2 separate regions of the Homo sapiens genome follow, and region 2 is linked to region 1. Evidence: promoter capture Hi-C in 16 types of primary human blood cells and fetal thymus (Javierre and others, 2016). All regions are on one chromosome and are shown on one strand. Each heading gives the region's core, a stretch centred on a gene start or on the middle of the fragment in contact. The rest is flanking DNA. Distances are from core to core; before and after follow the strand shown. Region 1 holds the start of MYORG (myogenesis regulating glycosidase). Region 2 overlaps UBE2R2 (ubiquitin conjugating enzyme E2 R2).

The links. Contacts are between HindIII fragments. The CHiCAGO score rates a contact against its expected background, and 5 or more counts as called.
Region 2: a contact is called between a fragment that was not itself captured here and the fragment with the promoter of MYORG in region 1, in 1 of 17 cell types (naive CD8 T cells). The highest score is 5.4, in naive CD8 T cells.

What each region holds. Positions count from the first base shown.
Region 1 is chr9:34,374,437-34,380,267 of GRCh38, forward strand. It overlaps MYORG (myogenesis regulating glycosidase), which reads right to left and starts at 2,462. Exons shown (of 2, transcript NM_020702.5): 1 at 2,357-2,462. SPMIP6 (sperm microtubule inner protein 6) reads right to left here. Exons shown (of 7, transcript NM_032596.4): 6 at 5,210-5,296; 7 at 4,583-4,745. The coding sequence ends at 5,210. RefSeq lists enhancers at 1,229-1,810, 1,811-2,391 and a silencer at 2,437-2,826. The HindIII fragment of the contact is 6,785 bases long and covers 918-5,831 here.
Region 2 is chr9:33,818,305-33,824,584 of GRCh38, forward strand. The region is part of intron 1 of UBE2R2 (ubiquitin conjugating enzyme E2 R2); the gene reads left to right. It overlaps UBE2R2-AS1 (UBE2R2 antisense RNA 1), which reads right to left and starts at 564. Exons shown (of 5, transcript NR_170204.1): 1 at 323-564. The HindIII fragment of the contact is 4,626 bases long and covers 2,312-6,280 here.

The DNA of each region.
Region 1 (5,831 bases), core at 1,212-3,711:
GCTCGTTCCTTCCCCAACCTAAATCCTTTAGGCCACCTGCTTCAGGAGATTTCACCCACCTAGCTTGGCCCAGCGCACCTCCTCCACCTACCTGCTCTCCAGGGATCAGACACCCACCACTACCACTAACACACATAAACTCTGACACACTATATGCTAAATATCCAGATATGAGGCCATGCACGGTGCTCATGCCTGTAATCCTAGCACTTTGGGAGGCCAAGGAGGGCAGATCTCTTGAGCTCAGGAGTTTGAGACCAGCCTGGGCAACATGTTGAAACCCTGTCTCTACCAAAAATACAAAAAAAAAAAAAAATTAGCCAGGCATGGTGGTGTGCACCTGTAGTCCCAGCTACTTGGGGGGCTGAGGTGGGAGGGTCGCTTGAGCCCAGGAGGTCAAGGCTGCAGTGAGCCAAGATTGTGCCACTGCACTCCAGCCTAGGTGACAAAGTGAGACCCTATCTCAAAAAAAAAAAAAAAATACAGATATGACTACAGGGAAACACAGGCTCAGGGGAAGAGGTGTGTCCTACTCTGCCACTCAAGGCCACTGACCGTTCCTGTCCCAGGCTTCAGAGCAGAGTCCAACAAAGAAATAGCACCACCCAGGTGCACACACGGGCATACACACAGCCAGCCAGTTGGTTGCCCAACTGCTCCAGCTCGGGGGAAGAAGAGAAGGAGACTAGCAAACAGTAATTAGCCTCCTCCCAGATGCCAGTGTCTGTCTCTAAGTCCCCAGGGACTTCCAAGGAGATGCCGGAAATACTCAGGTTTTTCACCTCCCCCATGCAAGAATGCAAGGTGTGGAGCAGAATTTGATCCTAAATGTCAATACACAGCTCCTCCCATAGGCACTTCCCACACGGTGCTAGCTCAGGGCCTCATTCTCAGTGCCCTCTGCCCCCAGCTGCCTAAGCTTGTCAGCCCTAGCTGGTCTGGAACAGACTCTTATTCCCTTTCTCTCAGTCTACAATGACTTAGCTTTCCTCCCCATTCCTATATAGATACAGCTTAGAAAACACCTCCTGGAAAATGCAGCCAGTGGCCTTTAGGTGATGCCCTCAAGCTGAGCAGAACCCAAAGAAGGCTTTAGGTGGCTCAGATCACACCTGTGAGTTTATATTCATTCATTCAAGATAACCAAAGCCCTATTCTGGGCACCAAGGAAATAAGGAGAGAGAGGGTCAGTATCTGAAGAGGAGAGAGACTTCCTCATCCTCAAAACTTTCATATGAAGTCAGCCTATCTCATGAGCCCTGGAGGCAGGAAGAGGCCACCAAGGTGGATTCAAAAGCCCTTTCCGACAGTTATGTTTTGAGAATCTTAATTTTCTGGGATCTGAAGTTCTTTGATGAAAGACAGAAGCCCACAGGCCTGGGCACCCACCCACCCCAGGCACCATGATAGTGTCCCAAATGTCACCACAGCATCCAGTTCTATCAACAATGTGGAACAGCAGACATAGCTGCAGTGTCCATTTTACAGGTGAGGAAACGTGGCCCAAACAGAAAAAGGAACTTGTCTGAAGTTAGCCAGGTATCAAGGCTGCCTGGATCTAAAATCCCAGCCCAGCTCTCCACAGTGTAAGTTTTAGGAGATGGGAGATAATGATCTGACCTGGCTGCCTGAATGCAGTAGCAGAAAGGAGCCCTGGGGCTGAGCTGGTGGGACCAGCTTCCATCAGATGGACATGGCATGGTGAGGCCTGTCTTTCCAAGGGCTGGTGCTGCTGCTTGCTCCACGCGGACCACGAAGACCACGAGGGCAGCAAAGAGGGCAATTTTAATGGCATCTGGTACCGGGGCTTTGGGGGAGGAAGTCTGTGGTTCCGGTGTTAACAGTGGTGCCAGAGACCTCTGTAATCTGCCGCCTCCGCCAGGTGGAGTCTGGGCTCTGCCCCTGCTGAGCCTCTCCCCACCGGACACTCAACCTCAGCCTTGGCTGCCACAGCTAGTCTGGTCTGAGGGGGAGGGCCCCGCCCGACTCAACTGAGGGGAGGCCATTCCAAGTAGAATCGTTAGTTGGACACAGTTCCCGGGGGGATGGAAATGTCAAAGGCAACTCGATCCGGCCCATCTCCCTCTCCTGCCAGGCGACGGTATCCGCGGGGATCGAGTGACTGCCTACATAGCCTGGAATACTCCACAGCCGCCCTCCCTACCCCGCCCTGAAGGCTATACTGTCCGAAGGGGCCGACCGAGGTCAAGGGACCTGTCGCCCCGCGGGAATCGCGGCCGTGGGATGGGCCCAGGTGTTCAGGCTCGCTCCACCCATTCATCGGTGGGAGCGAAAGTTCAGGAATCGTGCTCCTTCAGCAGCCCCCCGCCCCCCACAGCCCTCCCGCTGGGCTCACCCATTGCAGTTACAGCCCGGCAGAAGCGGGGGTGAAAGAGCTTCCCGCCGATCCCCTGCGCTTGAACCAGAGTGAAGCTGCCGCCGCGCCGCGCGGGGCTCTGTCTGGCAGGGCACAGCCCCTCCTCGGGTCCCGCCCTGGGGTTCCTCGGCCACGCCCCAGTCATCCAGTCTCGTCTCGGGCCTCAGAGTCCAGCCCTGCCCTTGACGTTCGACCCCTCCTCCCAGGTTATCAGGCGGATCTGTGGCCCCGCCCCTCAGCCCCACCTTCCTCCCACCGCTCTGTGCTCTGCCCCTGGCATTTCAGGCTTGCTCAGTCCTGCGCCCCGCGGCTCCGACTCCCGCCGGCGGGCCCGCCCCTCCTGGGCCACTGCTAACCCGCAAGCGGGCGGGGCTCGGCCCCAGGCCTGCTGGGACATGTAGTTCTGCAGAAAGGAGCAGCTGCGGAAGGTTGGGGTTCTTGCACCTCTAGGCTAGGTTTGGAATGAGGATGAGAGGGAGAGAGCTGCAGGGTAAAGGAGCAGAGCTGGCCATTGGAATTCCTTCCTTCCCGGTTTGGACAGGTGGAGGCCATATCGGTATAACGCTCTCACAAGCCCTCAGCTTTCCATACGGAAAAGTGGTGGCGGAATTCCGCGAGTATCTCAGCTCCCAATGCAGGTGCTTCCAATCGAGGGCCCCACGGAGGGAGCTGTAGTTCCAACCCGCCGCGAGTCCAAGCTGTCGGTTCCCACCGGACCAAACCAGCGGTGTCCGAGGTCAGGGACTGAGAAGACCGGTTTCTGCTCGGTGTTTTGCAACGTCACCCGCCTCCCAGACCGCTACCCCCAGACTAGTTATTTATAGGGTCCAGCCCCTCCTCCTAAGTTACAGCCTTTAGTTAGAAATGCCCAAGCTGCGGGAAAGTGGGTGTGCCCCGCCATGCCCCTCTCCCCGGGGGCTGGGCAAGACTCTGAGGTTTCATTTCTTTTTTATTTTATTTTATTTTTATATTTATTTATTTTTGAGTTTCGTTCTTGTTGCCCAGGCTGGAGTACAATGGCACGATCTCAGCTCACTGCAAACTCCGCCTCCCGGGTTCAAGCAATTCTCCTGCCTCAGCCTCCCAAGTAGCTGGGATTACAGGCACGCACCACCGCGCCTGGCTAATTTTGTATTTTTAGTAGAGACAGAGTTTCACCATGTTGGTCAGGCTGGTCTCAAACTCCTGACCTCAGGTGATCTACCTGCCTCGGCCTCCCAAAGTGCTGGGATTACAAGTGTGGGCCACCGCGTCCGGTCTTTATTTTTTTGAGAGAGGGTCTCGCTCTGTCGCCCAGGCTGGAGTGCAGTGGCGTTAACATAGCTCACTGCAGCCTCAATGTCCTTGGTTCAAGCTATCCCCTCCCGCCTCAGGCTCCTGAGTAACTTGGACCACATGTGTGTGCCACCATACCCTGCTAATTTTTAAATTTTTTTGTAGAGAAGGGGTCTCTTTATGTTGCCCCAGCTGGTATCGAATTCCTGGGCTCAAGTGATCCTCCTGCCTCTGCCTCCCAAAGTGGTGAGATTACAGGTGTGAGCCTCTGCACCCAGCTGGTTTCATATCTATTTGATGCAGAAATAAAAATACTGAAGATCACAGAGATTTTAGAATGGCCCCTTCTCGCTCCCTGAGGGGCAGAGAAACAGGGCTTTGTTTTGCAACTTGAAATTTCTTTGTCATGAGACCCTCCAAAATTATGTTTTGACCAGTTGGACTTGGAATGGGGGACACACCTTGTGCAGCAAGGGTGTCTGAGCACAGAGAGGCTTTTGGGAGGCTGTGATGGGGACTCCTGGAAGCAGAGATCAAGAGCTTTGGGTGTAGGGATAGGTCTTTGACTGTGGAAGGAAGGATTCTGGGTCCTCTGATGAGTGGGAGGGCATCTAAGTTTGGGAGCATACTGAAGAAATGTTAGCTGGAGGGTCTTCGTGGGGTGGAAAGTAGATGGCTCCTGCCTGCATTGCAGGGTGGACCCATCCGTTTGGGCTCTGGGATTCAGGGGAGGAGGATAGCAGCTGGATATAAGGCTACTGTTCTGTGTCAGGAGGGCACTCAGGGATGTACTGAGATGATGGGGTTGGAAGGGCCCAGGGAAGGGTGACTTTGAGAAAAATTGCATCTCAGTTGAAGGGGTTTGATAGAGGCCTGAGTGACTGGCCCTTCACTTCCAGATCCTGCTGGGTAAGGACACAGGAGGCAGGCTTTGGGGTTGAAGAGTTTATTTATTGCTCTGCCCCCTTGGCACAGCAAGCCCAGGCTCTACCAGCAACGATAGTCGGGATAGGTCTCAGACACAAACTCAGGATGGATAACATAGTTGTTTCTCTGGGGACCACCAGACTTCTTGAAGTGACTTGTGTCCCATCTACAGGAAGAGATGGGTCAGCCGTTTTGGATCCTCATATGTCAAAGTGAATATCTGACTCCAGTTTGCAATGCTAACCTTATCCCTACACTTTGTCTATAGCACTGACCTTGGGTTCCAATACTGACCTCCTGACCTTAGGTTCTACTGTTAAGTTGCTGATACCCAATATTTCCTCCTTAACATCGACTTCTTACTCATTACTTCAAGCTCTGAACCAACGCCTTTGGCTGTAAGCCCACTGCCAACCTGTAACCCTTCAATACCGGCCTCCTAGCCCTCTCTTAAGGTCCTCTGTCCTTACCACCTTTGACTGCTCCATGCCACTAGCTCCCCCTCGTGGTATGTGCCTGTCAGTGCACCGCGGAGCGTTCTCATCCCGTCTACCAGACATCCTCCCCCAGCCCCGCCTCACCAAGCCTTCAGGGTGCGTGTGCAAATGAGTGTGTGCGCGTTAGACTTACCTAAGGTTCGGATATGGGTAGTATGACGGCGGGGGAGTTGTAACAGCACACTGCATTCCGGGCCGGTGCTCGTAGGGAGGTACACATCTGGAGAAGGAGGAAGCCGCGAGCATGGAGGGGTTGGGCCTTTTGACTCTCATCCCCCGATTTAGACCAAGCCCCTGGGCGGCGCTTCAGGTGTCCGTCCCAAGGCTCGGAAATCCTCCTCTCCTTCTTCCTCACCCTTCAAAACCCCCACTGCAGCACCGATTCGGGAACCCCCCTTGGAAGACTCCCTCCCGGCAAGGCCTCATTTCTGCCGTTGAGGAAAGAGCGCTGGACCCTGGGGAAGGTCGGGCTCCGGGCGTTGAGGACCTGGAACCACCGGATCCCCGCCACTGGACAGCAATTTCTCCAGCAGTAGGACGAGGCATCATTTCTGAGCTTCCTAGAGGCTCAGACACTTTCCCACTCCCCTATGCCCTTGAGAGGGATAAGACTCAGTCTTGCACAATGAATCAGGCTCTCTCGGCCTGGAGAGGGGCGGGGGATCACTATGGACCCCCACTGCACAGCTCTCTGGGCTACCGCGGACAAAGTTCTCCCAGGCTTGGCTGCCGCCGCGTGCAGGACGAATGCCGAG
Region 2 (6,280 bases), core at 3,375-5,874, 550 kb before region 1:
GGCTGGAACTGCCCCAGAGGGCAGGGTGACCTGCACCGACTGGATTGGACTTTTCTTTTTTGGGGGGTGGGGGTGGGGGTGGGGTGGGGGAGGGGCACCAGCTTGTCATTTCAGAAGCTGCCGAGTGCCCTGACATTTTGAGGATTTGTTGGGCATCTTGGGTAGTGGTAGTGCCAACTTTGCATTCCAATGGGTGGTGGTGAAGAATGGGACCCTAGGGGTGGTAAAAAAAAAAAAAAAAAAAAAAAGGGTGCCCGCGTCGTCTTGTCATTATCCATTTGGGGGAACTTTAACCCTCTTTCCGTTCACATTCTCTGCTTACCTCAGTCACTGGTTCTTTCAAAATGCCCTTTGTCCTCACCATGCCACCAAGTTTGCCAACCTTTTTTTCTACAGGTAGAAGTATCCACAAAGGGTGGAACGAGTCATGTAGGGAGACTGATAGCTTCCTACTTTCAGAGACAAAATTGAAACCTGCTCAAGTGGTTAACTCTAGCTAAAGGGGTGGTCTCACAGATGACAAGTATCATCTGAGGCGAGATCGTTTCTCTGGGTGGGATGTATGGTTCCTTAGCGACCACAGACATTGTTTCTGTTGTTTTATATGGTCTTAGAACAGTGGTTATCATTCCAGAATCTAATGATTTTTTTTTAACTCCAAGGTAGTTAACTTGGAGATAATGAGTGTTTGTTTTGTTTTGTTTTTACTTGAGTGTTTTTGCAGGGAGGAATCACAGATTGAAAGTCTGAATATTTTAAATGATGGGGGCAGAGAGAGGAAATGAGTGCTTAGGAATCCATTTAGTTTTATTTTTTTATTTTCAAAATTAAGTAAAATAGGCCAGTGAGTCAATTTTAGTTTGGAAGGGAGGGGTTATCTTGGCACAAGTTTTAAATGAGTATCTTAGTCATGTAGTTGTGATGTGTATTTTTAGGACTACCCAATTACTTAACTCTTGTTTTCTACCCTTCTAAAGGTGGAAACCTCAGTTTTATGCTTGAAATTAGGTCAACTTTGTAGGAAATGGGATTGATACAGGAATGTTTAATATTCACTACTGTATATAGTCACTGAGTACCTAGGAAAAGCACGTTTTTAGAATATTATGTAAGTGCGGTACCCCTACCAACTGTTAGGCTTCATCTTTTGTGGTCAGCCTACCCTATACTTTTCAGATGGAGGTATTTAAAATTACTAAGAAAACATGCAACTTATTAGTAACAAAGTGGAAAAGATATTGCTGTGTTTATGATGAAGCATATTCTCTGTTGTCAAATATAAATTTTTATGCATACTGGAAAAATTAGTTGTACAAAATTGAATGTATGTGATACCTTTCTTTTTTTTTTTTGAGACGGAGTCTCGCTCTGTCACCCTGGCTGGAGTGCAGTGGCGCGATCTCGCCTCACTGCAACCTCCGCCTCCCAGATTCAAGCTATTCTCCTGCCTCAGCCTCCCAAGCTGCTGGGACTACAGGCGCACGCCACCACGCCCAGCTAATTTTTGTATTTTTAGTAGAGATGGGGTTTCACCATATTGGCCAGGCCGGTCTCGAACTCCAGACCCTGTGATCAACCCGCCTCTGCCTCCCAAAGTGCTGGGATTACAGGCGTGAGCCACTGCGCCCGGCCATGATGCCTTTTCTGACAAAACATTGTTTAGCAAAATCTGCTGGCTAATGTTAGTGGAATAAAGTTTGATTTCCAAAAAGTGTCATTGTTTGGTACAACCGATATTTAAAATAAATAAATGGGTACTAGTTAGAATAATCTCACTCCAATAAAGTTAAAAACAAGAGCAAACAAAACAAAACAAAACAAAACTTGTACATGAGAGAAAATAATGGGTTGCAAGTTGTAATATTTGTGCATAAGTCTGGGAAAGGAGTGTGGAGAACCCTCTCTGAAATAGGAAGTATGGAAGGATTCCTTGTGTTAATACACTGATTTAAATTAAATGCTTCTGAACTTCAGTCCTTGTTTAAAAGAATGATTTAATCTCGTGCTTTGTGATGTTAGATTTCTTAAGCTTTGAGTGTTTTTACCTTTAATTCTGACATGTATGAAAATTTGTAAACAGGTTTTATGGTTTAGTCTTGTGTGAGAAGTTTGTTCGATTGTATTTTCGACTACTTTTTCCCTTATATGGCCTTTTATCCCATTAGTTGTTCATTAGAAAAAGGCAAATTTATGGTCATGAGCAGTTGACACTGGGGATATGTTTAAAACCATTGTTTTTATTTTACTGCTTTTGTCTTAAGACAAGGCTTTTAGTGTATTTCACTACAGCTGCAGTTGAAAGTTGGCACAAAGCTTTCCCTACCATATCACTCTTCTCCCTTATTAAATGTTAGTCCTTGAACATTTAGTATAATTTATTTTCAAGTTAAACTCTTTTCCCTTTTTGGCATAGTCATTCGTGAAGGCAGTGGGACTGCCAGTCATTCTTTACATTTTTCATACTGTAATTCCTTTAACTTTTATATATTAATAGGTTTCTAACTGATCTTTTTCACCCTGAAATAGTTGGCTCTTGTCTCTTACCCACAGGATCTGCATTGGAGATTTGTGAGACCTGTATTTCACAGAATTTTTTTATTCATCCTGCTTTCGCTTATTTAATATCGCCAATCCACGTGATTCTTAGTTTTGGGCCATATAGATGTAGGATGGGCAAAGATAGTTTCTTCTGTCCATTCTGAATACTATACAATCTTTTTTGGCCTTACTATCTTTTTGTGTAGTTTCTTATTTTGCTACCTAAGCAAGTCGGAATTTTATTGTTACTAGAAAAATAAATTGTGGATCAAGTCAGTAGCTAATGAAGACTTTTAACAAGTTCACCCCCTTTCTTTTGAAAGGAACTTTTTCAGGGTCTTTCTCTGTCACTTAGTTTGGGGTACAGTGGTGTGATCATGGCTCACTGCAGCTTCCACATCCTAGGCTCAAGCAGTCCTCCCACCTCAGCCCCCTGAGTAGCTGGGACTACAGGCATGACTACGCCCGGCTAATTTTTTTTTCTTCAGTATTGTTAAGTGAGGTAGGGTCTCACTATTTTGTCCAGGCTGGTCTCAAACTCCTGGGTTCAAAGGATCCTCCTTTCTCAGCCACCCAAAGTGCTGGTTTTACAGGCGTCAGCCACCATGCCCGGCTGGAACTATCTTTTCAAATAACTCCTGCTAAGGATTGTAGCTTAGTGTGGGTGCTTTAGTACTGAACCTCCTTGGAACTTTTGCATTATTTATCTAAAGCATTATAGCAGTGAGTCTAGAGCCAGAAAGAGTGCCTCTTTTATGATATGCATAACAAAAAAAAATTTTTTTTTTTTTTGAGATGGAGTCTCACTCTTTTGCCAGGCTGGAGTGCAGTGGCACGATCTCAGCTCACTGCAACCTCTGCCTCCTGGGTTCAAGCGATTCTCTTGCCTCAGCCTCCCGAGTAGCTGGGATTACCGGCGTGCGCCATGAAACCTGGCTAATTCTTTTTGTATTTTTAGTAGAGACAGGGTTTCACCATGTTGGCCAGGCTGGTCTTGAACCCCTGACCTTAAGTGATCTGCCCATCTCAGCCTCCCAAAATGTAATCCTAATTAGAGGCCTGAGCCACCACTCCTGGCCAACCTTTTATAGTTTTGATTTTATTAAATAATTTGATTGAGGTAATGAAATATAGATGTGTTCCATTTTTAGAAAACTCCAGTCTGATAATTTAGAAAGTATTTGTTGTATACTTAAAGTTTTCCTTATTAGGAACATCTTTATTAGACTCAACACTGACATATATATATATATATTTTTTTTTTTTGAGACTGAGTTTTGCTCTTATTGCCCAGGCTGGAGTGCAGTGGAGCGATCTCGGCTCACTGCAACCTCCGCCTCCTGGGTTCAAGCGATTCTTCTGCCTCAGCCTCCTGAGTAGCTGGGATTACAGGCATGCGCCACCATGCCCAGCTAATTCTGTATTTTTGGTAGAGACGAGGTTTCTCCATGTTGGTTAGGCTGGTCTCAAACTCCTGACCTCAGGTGATCCCGCTCACCTCAGCCTCCCAAAGTGCTGGGATTACAGGCCTGAGCCACCACACCTGGCCTACACTGACTTACATTAAAGAAACTCTTCAAAACCTTTTTTTTTTTTTTTTAAGAGATAGGGTCTCACTTTGTTGCCCAGGCTGGAGTGCAGTGGTGTGATCATAGCTCACTGCAGCCTGAAACACTTGGGCTCAAGGGATCCTCTTGCCTCACCCTCCTGAGTAGCTGGGACTGCAGGTGCATACCACACTCGTTTTAATTTAAAAAAAAAATTGTTTATGCAGAAAGGGTCTCATAGGCCAGGCTGGTCTCGAACTCCTGGCTTCAAACAATCCTCCCACCTTGGCCTCCCAAAGTGCTGGTGTTACAGATGTGAGCTACCACACCCAGCCAAATAATTTTTTTTTTAATAAGAGAATATGCATTATTTCCTATGCTTCATTTGTTTTGCAATGAATGAATCTATTTTCTGCCTTCCCTCTTCCCCCTAAAAAAACAAACCAGACTTAGCCTAGATCTGGCAATGTCATTTAGATATTTTATTTCTTTTTTTTCTTTTTCTTCTTCTTATTAATTTTTTTTTTTTTTTTTTAGCTGAGTCTCGCTCTGTTGCTCAGGCTGGACTGCAGTGGTGTGATTTCGGCTCACTGCAACCTTTACCTCCTGTGTTCAAGCAGTTCTCGTGCCTCAGCCTCCCAAGTAGCTGGGATTACAGGCGTGCACCACCATGCCTGGCTAATTTTTGTAATTTTTAGTAGAGATGGGGTTTTGCCATGTTGGCCAGGCTGGTCTTGAACTCCTGGCCTCAAGTGATCTGCCCACCTTGGCCTCCCAAAGTGCTGGGATTACAGATGTGAGCCAGTGTGCCCAGCCTATTATTATTATTTTAGAGACAGAGTCTCGCTATGTTGTCCAGGCTTGTCTTGAACTCCTGGGCTCAAGTAATCCTCCCGCCTCAGCCTCCCAAAGCACTGCGATTATAGGTCTGAACCATTGCACCCAGCCTATTTTATGACTCTTTAATTGGTAAAATATAGTTGAAAAAAAATTTTTTTTTTTCCTAGATGGAGTCTTGCTCTGTTGCGCAGGCTGAAGTGCAGTGGCGCGATCTTGGCTCACTGCAACCTCTGCCTCCCGGGTTCAAGCAGTTCTCCTGCCTTAGCCTCCCAAGTAGCTGGGATTACAGGTGCGTGCCAGCACGCCCGGTTAATTTTTGTATTTTTAGTGGAAACGGGGTTTCACCATGTTGTCCAGGCTGGTCTCAAACTCCTGACCTCAGATGATCTACCCGCCTTGGCCTCCCAAAGTGCTGGGATTACAGGCATGAGCCACCGCGCCTGGCTGAAAAAATTTTTTTAGGAAAATGATTGTTTGCCTTTTTGAGACAGGGATTCTTTTGAGAAATTGAAGAATTTTCTCAGAGAAAATGGGTACACGTAAACTAATTTTATGTATCTTTTTCAGAGGGTTTACTGCCGATGAGCTAAGAATCCTCTTGTAAGGTATTTGGATAGGCAACTTAAAGACAATTTTAAACAGCTCCTTTAAAATTATAAAACGAATGCTCTTTTATTCCCCCATTTCTCTCAGTTAACTTTGAAACTACCTCTTAGGGCATTTAGCTGTCTCTTTCTGGAAGATGAAGTTGTCTTGAGTACTGGGTGAACTAAGGTAACGTTATAAATGGAAACACAGTTAAGGTCTAAGGGTTTTGGAAACTAAATGAAGTTTCACTTTTTGTTGTTTCTCAGAACATTTTTCAAACCAAATATGATGCCTTAGTTTTTCATAGAATATGCTTTTATCCTGTTTAGTTGATTACAAGATGCATATTTTTCTACCTTTTAACTTCTTTTTGATTAAGAAATTTCTTAGATGGCCAGGTGTGGTGGCTCATTCCTGTAATCCCAGGACTTTGGGAGGCCGAGGCGGGTGGATCACCTGATGTCAGGAGTTCAAGACCAGCCTGGCCAACATGGTGAAACCCGGTCTCCACTAAAAATACACAAATTAGCTGGTGTGGGCCGGGCGCGGTAGCTCATGCCTGTAATCCTAGCACTTTGGGAGGCCGAGGCGGGCGGATCACGAGGTCAGGAGATGGAGATCATCCTGGCTAACGTGGTGAAACCCCATCTCTACTAAAAAAATACAAAAAAATTAGCCAGGCATGGTGGTAGGCACATGTAGTCCCAGCTACTTGGGAGGCTGAGGCAGGAGAATGGCGTGAACCCGGGAGGCGGAGCTTGCAGTGA